Linked DNA regions of Homo sapiens: region 1 is linked to region 2. Evidence: promoter capture Hi-C in human tissues and cell types (Jung and others, 2019). All regions are on one chromosome and are shown on one strand. The core of a region is centred on a gene start or on the middle of the fragment in contact, and the rest is flanking DNA. Distances in the headings are between cores, read along the strand shown.

Evidence for each region. The method cuts DNA at HindIII sites, captures the fragments that hold promoters and counts their contacts. A contact is called where the count stands out against the background at its distance.
Region 1: a contact is called between a fragment that was not itself captured here and the fragment with the promoter of LPCAT1 in region 2, in 2 of the 25 tissues and cell types used here (bladder and mesenchymal stem cells).

What each region holds. Positions count from the first base shown.
Region 1 is chr5:1,595,477-1,600,146 of GRCh38, reverse strand. It overlaps the pseudogene PDCD6P1. Among named protein-coding and RNA genes, the nearest start is that of LPCAT1, 74 kb to the right of the region's middle. The HindIII fragment of the contact is 3,047 bases long and covers 1,699-4,670 here.
Region 2 is chr5:1,520,764-1,527,757 of GRCh38, reverse strand. LPCAT1 (lysophosphatidylcholine acyltransferase 1) reads left to right here and starts at 3,798. Exons shown (of 14, transcript NM_024830.5): 1 at 3,798-4,048. The coding sequence starts at 3,914. RefSeq lists a cis regulatory region at 2,406-2,641, silencers at 3,411-3,810, 3,831-4,140, 4,411-4,610 and an enhancer at 5,771-6,275. The HindIII fragment of the contact is 8,437 bases long and covers 242-6,994 here.

The sequences.
Region 1 (4,670 bases), core at 1,973-4,472, 73 kb before region 2:
CCTGGCCCATATGGTGAAACCCCGCCTCTACTAAAAATACAAAAATTAGCTGGGCGTGGTGGTGGGTGCCTGTAATCCCAGCTACTCGGGAGGCTGAGGCAGGAGAATCACTTGAACCAGAGAGTTGGAGGTTGTAGCAAGCCGAGATCGCGCCACTGCACTCCAGCCTGGCAACAGGGCAAGACTGTCTCAAAAAAAAAAAAAAAATAATAATAATAATAATAATACTAAATGAAGCGAGTGATCAGGACAAAACTAGCCTCTCATCAATCAATCAATAGCGCTTATCAAGTATTCATATGTCTGCCTCTTCTTCTAGACTACACTGAAGGCTGGTTACGCTCTTATGTGCAATAGAACCTCAAACACATCGTAACACACCTTTGGAGAATCCTTACAAGAACACCAAGTTAACAGTTATCTCTGACCACACTACCTCAGCAAAAAACCAGGAAGAAAAAATATTCTTCAACCCTTTTCAGGGACAGAAAGCATCATTTCAAAAGTCCAAGAAGGGAAGGTAAGAATTTCAGAAGTGAAAGTTATCATGAAAGGCTATAAAAGCTTGAGATGAGTCTGAAAAACAAATGGAAAATGAGTCACTTCAGGGCCTCTCCCAGCCTCAAAGCCAATTAATTATTACATTAGTCAGAGTAATTTTAAGCCTTCCAATCCACTCACCCTAGCCACAGGCAACAGTAGCCTCTCCAAGTGTTAAGGGTTTTTTTCCCAAGCCTGCAGGCGGATGAGCTTTTTACATGGCAGCCCCTTAGGATTGGATGTGGACCTGCCCTGTCTTTCACCAAGAAGCAAGCACTGCGCAGATCACTGAATCATAAAAACCACCTGCTCTTACCAGCCTCCTCTTCCTCTACAGCAAAACTTCTGACCTGAGACATCGAAGCAGATAAAAAGCCGCTACACAAAATGTATCGCTACAACTAGAGGGCAGTCTTGCCTTTCTTCCATTCAATTATTCAGTTTCTCATGTTCCTAAGTGCCAGCCCAGAACCATGGAATGTGAAGAAACACAAAACTCACTCCTCTGCATCAGTGAATTGATTGTGTGGTGGGGATGTAAGTCTGCATGTGACTGACAGTTCCCCAAAGTGGTGCCAAGTCAATCTAAACTAGAGAGAATTTCTGGCCAGGCCAAGCAGAGATTTCATGGATGAAGTCTCCCAAAGACTGATTTCCTAAACATTAAACATCACTGGTTTTCCAAAACTGGTTTTCTTTTTTTTTTTTTAACCCTGTTTCTCAGGCTGGAGGGCAAGTGGTGCCATCTCCACTCACTGCAGCCTCGACCTCCCAGGCTCCACTGATCTTCCCACCTCAGCCTCCTGAGTAGCTGGGACTACAGGTGTGCACCGCCACGACTCGCTAATTTTTGTATTTTTTGTAGAGACGGGGTTTTGCTGTGTTGCTCAGGCTGGTCACTCGATCTGCCCACCTGGGTCTCGCAGAGTGCTGGGGTTACAGGTATGAGCCACCACGCCCAGCCCACTGGTTTCCTTTACACCCGTTTTGTTCCCCAGCAGTCCTTATGAGGGCACCTGAAATAAGGAACCTCCTCCCCGACTTGAGAGCAGCAAAGCCTTCAGAGGGAACTAAGTTATTAAAACCCACCCCACACAAAATGCTTCTAAACGCCTTGGCTGACTTAATCCTTGCAGTGTGCTGAGGTTAAGTATGATTATCCATCTCCTGTGAACAGGAAGACTGAGGCTCAGAGCTTAAGTGATTTGCCCACGGTTCACTGCAGGGGATAAAACTCGGCTGTCCCTGGCAGGTCCCAAAGTCACGGCCTTCAGGCTCCCACACCATGCTGCCTCCCTCACCGGGGCTCCACACTCTCAGCCTGGAAAACACTAATTTTAAGAAAACCATGACTTACGAAAAGCAGCCAATCCCAGCATTGGAACCAACAGGGCATAATTCCACCTGCTTCCATCACCACCATCCGCCCTGGAATTAGGCCGGATATTCCAATTTGGGGGATCATTTAGGTTATTCATGGAGATATACCTTGAAGTAAAGAATAAAAACGTTAACTACTTTTATTCAAGAAATTTTTCTTCAGTTTTAACTATGTGCTTGCTGCACAGCACTGAGGCCCTACGGGATTCAAAGAAGAAAAAAACTAGACCAGAGCCGGGCATGGTGGCGGGCACCTGTAGTCCCAGCTACTCGGGAGGCTGAGGCAGGAGAATCGCTTGAACCTGGGAGGTGAAGGTTGCAGTGAGTCGAGGTCGCGCCACTGCACTCCAGCCTGGTGACAGAACGAGACTCCGTCTCAAAAAAAAAGAAAAAGAAAAAGGAAAAAAAAACAAGACCTTAGGTGAAAGCGACTCACAATCTGGTTGGGGAAAGTGGAGAAAACAGACATGTCTTAAGCATCTGAAGTGCAGGTAGAATCAGGTAAGTTCTCTGGTACAAATATATTTAAATGTATGGCTGCTGCGATGGTTAATTTTGTTTGTCAACTTGACGGCATCATGAGGTGCTCAGATACATGGTTAAGCATTATTTCTGGGCGTGTCTGTAAGGGTGTTTTTGGATGAGATTAGCAATTGAACCTTTAAACCAATTTCTTACGTCTCCCTTCTATTTGTTGTGTCTCTGGAGAACCCTCATACAGTTGTATCAAAGATACAGAATCAACTCAATAAAAGTGGGCTCACACCAGACACTTTCATATGAGCTAGGGTTTGAAGAGTGAGCAGCATTTTGACAGGCAGAGAAAGAAGGAAAGGGTCTTCTGATCAGAAGGAAGACTGTGAGGAAGGCAGGGAGGGGTGATGTGGGGAAGGTGCAAACAGTGCTAGAAGCTTCTGAGGCCTCCTCATGGTGGTGATGAATGCAGAGATTACAGAGCTCTCTGCTTCGGGCTCAGCATGCACCCTCCATAGCTAGGCTGGGGGCTAACGTTAGTAAGAATTTACTGATTTACTGAGTACCTACACGAAGTTTCACATTTTCACAAAGTAGAGTCACTTTAAGTTTATTTACATGTGACCTCCACAAATACACACAATTACAAAATAGTCAAGGGATGTATAATAAGCAAGAAATGCAATCCAATTTCTGAAAGCTTTTCATGGGATTTTCAACAAATACTTAATATCTAAAGATAGAAAATTATAAGCAATAAAGATATGACAAAAATATGTCTTGGAGCTTAATACTAAGGGGTTTGTGGTGTGGAGAAAAGCAAGAGAGATCAGATTGTTACTGTGTCTGTGTAGAAAGAAGTAGACATAGGAGACTCCATTTTGTTCTGTACTAAGAAAAATTCTTCTGCCTTGAGATTCTGTTAATCTATAACCTTACCCCCAACCCCGTGCTCTCTGAAACGTGTGCTGTGTCAACTCAGAGTTAAATGGATTAAGGGCGGTGCAAGATGTGCTTTGTTAAACAGATGCTTGAAGGCAGCACTCTCCTTAAGAGTCATCACCACTCCCTAATCTCAAGTACCCAGGGACACAAAAACTGCGGAAGGCCACAGGCACCTCTGCCTAGGAAAGCCAGGTATTGTCCAAGGTTTCTCCCCATGTGATAGTCTGAAATATGGCCTCGTGGGAAGGGAAAGACCTGACCGTCCCCCAGCCCGACACCCGTGAAGGGTCTGTGCTGAGGAGGATTAGTATAAGAGGAAGGCATGCCTCTTGCAGTTGAGACAAGAGGAAGGCATCTGTCTCCTGCCCGTCCCTGGGCAATGGAATGTCTCGGTATAAAACCCGATTGTATGCTCCATCTACTGAGATAGGGAAAAACCGCCTTAGGGCTGGAGGTGGGACCTGCGGGCAGCAATACTGCTTTGTAAAGCATTGAGATGTTTATGTGTATGCATATCTAAAAGCACAGCACTTAATCCTTTACATTGTCTATGATGCAAAGACCTTTGTTCACGTGTTTGTCTGCTGACCCTCTCCCCACTATTGTCTTGTGACCCTGACACATCCCGCTCTCGGAGAAACACCCACGAATGATCAATAAATACTAAGGGAACTCAGAGGCTGGCGGGATCCTCCATATGCTGAACGCTGGTTCCCCGGGTCCCCTTATTTCTTTCTCTATACTTTGTCTCTGTGTCTTTTTCTTTCCTAAGTCTCTCGTTCCACCTTACGAGAAACACCCACAGGTGTGGAGGGGCAACCCACCCCTACATGTGGTAATTATAGAATTAAAAAATTAAGGCCAGGCACGGTGGCTCACGCCTGCAATCACAGCACTTCGGGAGGCTGAGGCAGGTGGATCACCTGAGGTCAGGAGTTTGAAACCAGTCTGGCCAATATGGTGAAACCCTGTCTCTACTAAAAATACAAAAACTAGCTGGGCGTGGTGGCGGGGGCCTGTAGTCCCAGCTACTCGGGAGGCTGAGGCGAGAGAATCTCTTTGTTTTTTGAGGGGCAGTCTTGCTCTGTTGCCCAGGCTGGAGTGCAGTGGCTCGAACTCCGCTCACTGCAAGCTCCACAGGAGAATCTCTTGAACCCTGGAGGCAGAGGTTGCAGTGAGCTGAGATCGCGCCATTGCACTCCAACCTGGGCAACAACAGCAAAACTCTGTCTCAAACAAAACAAAACAAAATTAGGTAATTAACACAGGACTAAAACTGCATAACTTTCAAAAAAAAGTCTAGGAGCTATTACGTTCATTCCCTGCAAGCC
Region 2 (6,994 bases), core at 2,549-5,048:
GTAAAGGAGTACGCGGACCGGCGGGTGAGACGGGAGTAAAGGAGTACACGGACCAATGGGTGAGATGGGGCAGCCAGAAGGAGCTTCAGGAACCCTTCTTTCTGTTCATGCTGGAAGTGGACCCACAAGTGGGAGTCTGTGATTGATACGTGGTGTTGAGAATATCAGGTCTCCATGCAGAGAAAAAAATCTTCAAATAGAATAAAATGCAACCATGAAAGGCAGAACTGAAAAAAGATGTTAGTAGAAAATGAAGGAGAATATCTTTTTCTATCCTATAGATAACTCTAAAATTCAAAAATTAAACAAACAAAACAAAAATACTCAGCCTTACCAGAACAAGCAGGTACCTTGTGTTCTCAATGCACTTGGAGTATAGGAAACACTTCTCTGTGAGCTTACACTCTTAAAACAGAGACAAAACCAGAGCAAGAAGCCTCAGGGGTGTGGTTACCAGCCCCAGGGAGCTGTGGGGGGCTTCCAGGAGGTTCCTGAGAACCACAGTGGGGGCTCCCTTTGTAGCTAAAGGGCCCTTAGGGTGGTTTTCCCAAAACTAAGTCCTAATGAGAAACTCATGTTTCCCCTGCTAGACAGAGAAAACTGCTTATACCTCCCCACCCAAGACCAACTTCTCTTAGTCAAGCTTCCAGACCCTCCAGGTCTTAAGAACGTTCCATTACATAGCAGAACCAAAGCCTAAGTGTGAAGGCCCAGTGTGGGTGGAGGAATTTCCTTGCTGCTCCTCCACGCTTGCGCTGATTTCCCCATAAGCAGCCCCTCTCCCCCACCCCTCGCAGTCCCCAGGAGAAAACTGACTCCCACACACAAGAGTGCCCCAGCTCCCCACCCCCTGGGCACGTGCCCTGTGGACCATCCAACCCCTTCCAGCTGCAGCAGAGAAGGAGTCCCCGCTCCGGGCCCCAGGCCTTTCCTTCCTCTGAGCGCAGAATCCTTCCAGACTGAGATGGGCCCATGACACCCCCTCTCACAGGGGTTTTCAACGTCTCCTGTGAGGCTGGCCTGTTGCCTTCCACCCAGGAACATGTCCTGGGCCCCTTCCTTGAGCTGCTGCCCTGGATCCCAGCCTCCCGCCAAGCATCCATTTTCCTCCTCCTGCCCATCACGCTTCCTCCTTTCTCAGGTAGCTGGGAAAGAACCTCTGTAACTCCTGCCCACTCCACAGCACCCTGCAGGGTGGTGGTCTCCACCCTTGCTACTACCACTGGCTGGCCTTCCCAGTTCTCTCCTGGCCAGTCCTCCTGGATGGGGCAGTTCCGTGGACTCAGCCCCTCTGGGGACCTCCGCTCCTTGGCCGCTCTCTGGGGCCTTCTTGGGTTCTGCTTGGTGAGGACGAGTGTGCCCCAGTCCTGCCCCCTGCTCTGCACAGCCCTTGGCCCTGTCACACCCACCCTCCCAGCTGTGCCCCCTTGTGTACTGACCCCGGAGCTGGGCCTCTGCGCCTCCTCCACATGGTGCCTGTGACCCAAGGATCCACTGAGCTTCTACACCAAGGCCACGCTGCCCACAGTGGCTCCACCTAAGACCCCTCTGGGAGAGGGACTCCTCTTTCCACCGACCTTGGCTCAAGGACAACCTGCTGACCCTGCTTAGATTGCCGGGCAGTATGAGGTTCTTCCCCCAGCCTCCCCACCTCCTTCCCTGGGTTCCAACTCACTTTGCACTCTGCAGGTTAAAGCAGAAGGAATTTATTCTCTCCCAGTCTGGAGGCCAGAAGCCTGCGATCATGGCACCCTAGGCCTAGGCTCCCTCTGAGAGCACTAGAGAGGACCTGCTCCAGGCCTCTCCAGCTCCTGGGAACTGCTTGCCTGTAGCAGCAGAACCCTGGCCTTCCCATGGAGCTCTCTCTGTGTCTGTCTCTGAGACCGAATCTCCCTCTCTATAGGGACACAAGCCATTTCAGACTAGGGCCCACCCTAATGACTTCCTCTTAACCTGATCATCTGCAAAGACCCTGTTTCCAAATAAGGTCGCGGCCACAGGTGCTGTGGGTTAGGACTTTTGCATCTTCTGGGGACACAGCCATGACTCTCTGGCAGCTCTCCCCATTGAATCTGGCTCTGCACCATCTCCAGCAGGTTTCCCCTCCGCCACACACCGCTTCCTGGCCTGTGCTTCTGGGAGGACCCCACTTTCATGGCTCTCCAAGTCCAGTCCTGAGGCTGCTCTCATCCCAGGACTGGGACACCCTAGGGCCCCTCCTCTCCAGAGCACTCAGGCAGCAGGTGGGGCCGCCTGGATCGCTGGGGTGCAGGTGCTGCCCTGTGGCTGGCAGGCTTTGTGTCCTGGGCTTTCTTGATGATCAGTTCGGTGAGGAGCCTTGGGTGGCCTCGGGTGCTGGGCTCTGGTTTTGGGGATCAGAGCAAGTGGCCACTAAAAGCCCAGGAGGTGGGTGCAACGCTGGTGGCTGGGCCACAGAGCCACCAATGCCCACCAGCACACAGGGCTCACCCCATCCCCGTGGGTGTGGCACTTGGGACAGGTGCTGCTGCTAGGCATGGGCTGGGACTCTTATGGGGCAGGAATATGGGCTGGGACTCTTATGGGGCAGGAATAAGGCCATGCAGCGGGTCTGGCCTGCCGGGGCCTTCTCTGTGCATGATATGTGGATGGCACAGACCCCTGGCCCTCACCCCGGTCTCAGACACAGAAGGGTCTCTGCCAGCCCGCTGCACTATGAGGTCCACAAGGGCGCAGGCAGGGTCATTGGAGGGGTCGGGGCACTCCCTGGCGTCTGCTGAGGATGGGGCCCAGCTGGGGCCAACACAGCAGTGACATCCCCAGGAGCCAGGACCCTGGGGGGTTGGCCAGGTGGCCCAAACCGGCTCTGTCTGGGTGAGGTCCGTTGGCCATGAAGGAACCAACAGGGCCAGCCGGGGTGAGGAAGCCGTGAGCACTGTGACCGAAGGCCTGCGTGAGTTCTGAAATCCAAGCGTGTTCACCCGGAGGCAGGAGCCCATCCTACTCTCGCTCCGGCTAATTATGGGCCCCACCCTGGGGCTCCTCACACGGCTCCTGAGCACCACAAGGGCAATGCCCGAGCCAAAGCAGCTACGGGTGAGAAAGCGCTGGGATCTCATCGCAGCCCCTGCACAACCAGCACGGACAGTCAGGGCCCCTATGTGCGCCTCCTGCCTGGGCCATCCCTGCGGGGCCTGAGGCCTGAGAGGTCCTGAGATCGGAGGGGTCCTGAGGTCTGAGGGGGTCCTGAGGCTTGAGGGGTCCTGAGATCTGAGGGGATCCCGAGGTCTGGGGGGTCCTAAGGTCGAGTGGACCTCAGGCGGGAGTCGCCTGGGCTGAGGCGCGGCTGGAAGAAGCTCCCTCAGCCCGGGGCAGCTTCCAGGGTCGCCGGTGCGAGCTAGGAGCCCAACGAATAAGAAGAATGGCGTGGGGCCTTCGCCGGAACAGCCCGGGGCTCGGCACCCAGGGCCTGGCCCGCCTTGCGCGTAAGCTGGACGCGTGCCCGCCCCTTCCTCCCTCCCCGCGAGCAGGCGGGCCGAGCGGCGGAAGGGGACGACGTGGCAGCCTCGCGGGCCCGGGGGACCTCCCTTTCTCCTGGCGCAGACCCTGCCGGGGATCCCTGTGCTCCAGTGGCTGCAGGAGGCGCCCCCGGTCCCCAGCGGCCCCGGCCCCCCACAGACCCCAGAGAAACCACCAGGTAGCGGAACTCCGGCTGGTGCCGCCCCTGCCGGCCGGCGGGAGGCGAGGCTTCCAGGGACGCCCCGCCCCGGCCGGCGCTCCCGCTCCGCCCACGTCACCTCCCGCGCCTGCGCGCCCGGCCCGCTCCAGCCGCCGCGCATCCTCGGCCCGCGCCCCGAGACCCGCGCCCAGCTAGCCCCGGCCCCGCTCGGCGCCCCAGGCAGCTCGGCTGCGCTCGCCGCGGGACGGCGCGGCCATGAGGCTGCGGGGATGCGGACCCCGGGCCGCCCCTGCCTCCAGCGCAGGGGCCAGCGACGCTCGGCTGCTGGCGCCCCCGGGGCGGAACCCCTTCGTGCACGAGCTGCGCCTCAGCGCCCTGCAGAAGGCCCAGGTGGGTGCCCAGGGCGCGCGGCCCCGGGAGCCGGCGCGGACGCCAGGGATGCTGGGGCCAGGGAGGCGCGGCCGAGGAGGGGCCGGGGAGGGGGCCTGGGGCGCGGCGCGGCCCTGCGAGCCGCGGCGCCTTCCCTCCCCGCGGCCGCCCCTCAGTTCGCGTCCCCGCCGCCCGCACCCGATGCCTCGGTCTCGGCGCCGGCTTCCCGCCGCCCGCACGCGCATCCTGGTCCCTCAGCGCCTTCCTCGGGGTCCCCGCTTCCCATCCCCGCCCCGCGTTCTGCTCCTCCCCCCAGACCCCTGCACCCTGAACCGGGCCCACAACCCTTTCTCTGCCTCCCAGAGCCCCGACCTCGGCTCCCGCGGGAGGCTGGACCCGCATCGCCGGTCCCCGCGCTCGTCCCTGGTCCGGGCCCCGCCCGCCTTGGCAGGCCCTGCGCGCAGCCCGGGGACTCCGGAGCGGCTTTGCCTGGACGCGGCCCGCGGGCGGGAGGGCACCGCGGCTCTGGGTGAGCCTCGTGTGCGGGGCCTGGTGGTGCCCGGGACAGGGCGCGCGGGCGGTGCGGGTCCCCTGTAGGGTCCCCTGTAGGCGCACGGGTCTCCCTGCTCTGCGGCCGCACGTTGCCTTCTGGGGTGCATGCTTCGCTCCTGTTGTAAGGGATGCTTTCTCGGGGCTGGTCTGACCCGAATCAACTTTATGCAACCTGGGCTGCCACGTGGGAGGGAACGGTTTGCTGAGATCCTGCGATGGGACAGTGGTGAGGGGAGACCCGGGGGCGTCGTGGGGAGGGGGCCGCTCGCTGCAGGAAGCTGCACCGGGGATGTGCTGGCTCAGCCTGGCTTTTCCGGCTACCTGGCTGCCAGCTGGGCTTACAGTTACCTGAGATCCACTCTCAAGAGGACCTTACTTTTGACTCTAGAATAATTCCTAGAAGCAAGCACTGTTTCGGGGCCTATGGGGCTGTCCGGTTTGTAGGGAGCACGCTTCCAATTGTGAGAATAGATTTCCGGGAAGATGGAGATTTGTTAATGCATAAAGTACTTTATCTGAAAGAACCCTGAAGTGAAAAGTTCTTGAGGCCAGTTTGAGCTTGTCATTTTCCCAGGACGCCTGCTTTTGCTCAAAGCCCCTTGATGCGGCTGGTCCTCAGGGTATGGAAGGGGACGGGGAGCAGGAGAGCCCGATGGTGCCGCCCCTCCTGGTGACACACAGGGTGAGGTCGTCCCCAGCCTGGCTCCCAGGCCCTGGCCCCCGTCTCCCTGTGTGTCGGGAGCTGGACTCTGGGGCTGGGGCGGTGCCGGCCCCTCTGCCGCCGCTCTGCCTGGCCCTCTGTCTGCCACACGCTGTCAGCTGCCGTGTGCTGTGCCCCTCAAAGGAGGACTTGGGACACGGTCGCTCATTCTGTGCCCCTCAACCATTCCTCCTCTTCAATCCTCACCCCCACCCAGCCACCAGGCTCTCTCCCTGGTCACTCTCCCTGAGTCACTCCCAGCAGGCTTTCTTCCTCCTGCACTCTGCTGCTCGGAAGCCCTCAGCGGGGACGCCCCCGGATGAAATTCGAACCCCTGCTGTGGTTTCCAGGGCTTCCCCAGCCCTGCTCCTGCCCCAGCTATGGCTGCCTCAGGCATGCTCTCTCTTCCTGCCTTTCCTACTCCCTCCTGGCTCCCTGGGGGGAAACATCAAGCCCCTCCCTGGAGGTCCCCGGAGGCCACTTCGTCATCCCTGTCATAGTTGCAGCCCCCGGTTGAGGTGTGTTCTGTCCAAAAGTGTGCACCCACTGCCCTGGCGAGAAGCAGGGCAGAGACTCTCATGGGTAGGTACAGATGTCAGGGCACTGCCAGAGTGCCCAGAGGGGCCTGCTTTCCTCCCCGAGACCTCAGGGTGCAAGCTGCTCCCAGTGGCTCTTGGGCAGGGGGTCATCGAGAGGCTCCTGGTCCCGAGATTGAAGGCTTTGGGCAGCTGTTCTCCCTTGGGCCGAAGCCAGGCAGAGATCCTGGCTTGAGGTGTTGGGGCCTCTCAGAGAGGGGGCTTGCTTTGTTGCCACTTCAGAGGTTCCATCTGAGGAATTAGGTGTGTTTGTACATCCAGTCGTTTCTGCTGGATGTCTGCAATGTGTGGCTCAAGGGTTTAGTTTGTAAACGTTCTCAAAGTTCTCTGCAGAAACATTTTGCTTTTCACCAAGCATTGCTTTGCAAAGCTTTTACTTTGATGTGATATATTCTTGTAAAGTTTCCACAGAGTGAAATAGCCTGTCTTTCAAGCCAAGAAAGCCTTCTTCCCCAAAGAAAGAAATGGGTCCAGTAGTGGCTGACACACTCAAGAACCCGCAGAAACCCAGCTAAGTTCCCAGTTGAGATAAACCAGTGAGTACCTGCATTTACCTGTGAGCATTTGCCGCCTGGGAGGGGCTGCTGTGTGTCTTCGGATTAGCGCCATGCGGGGACACCTCCTCCTCCAGCCAGCCCATCTGTCATTTAACTACAGATTTAGTGAGGAGCTTAAGTATCTCTTTGGACAGAAAACAGCACATTAAGATCTGAAAAGAGGTATCAAAGCCATCAGGGTCTGTAATACGTGCAATGTTTTAATCCTCTGGCTAAAGCAAGGATATAGATTTAGTAGAGAGCGGTAAATGGTATGGTACAGGATCTTAGTGAGTTCAGCTGAGGTTCTTCATAGTCACACATTCATATATCGTTTTGGAGTCATGAAGTGGTTTCTGTCACCCAGGGTTTTCTCGGTACTTTCCTTGGAATCTGTGGGTATGAGTATTTCCCACTATGGTTCTGATGCGTTTTCCCCATTTCTTTTTTTTTTCTTTTTCTTTTTCTTTTTTTTTTTTTTTTTTTGAGACAGTCTCTCTCTGTCGCCCAGGCTGGAGTGCAGAGGTGCGATATCGGCTCACTACAAGCTCTGCTTCCCGGGTTCACGCCATTCTCCTGCCTC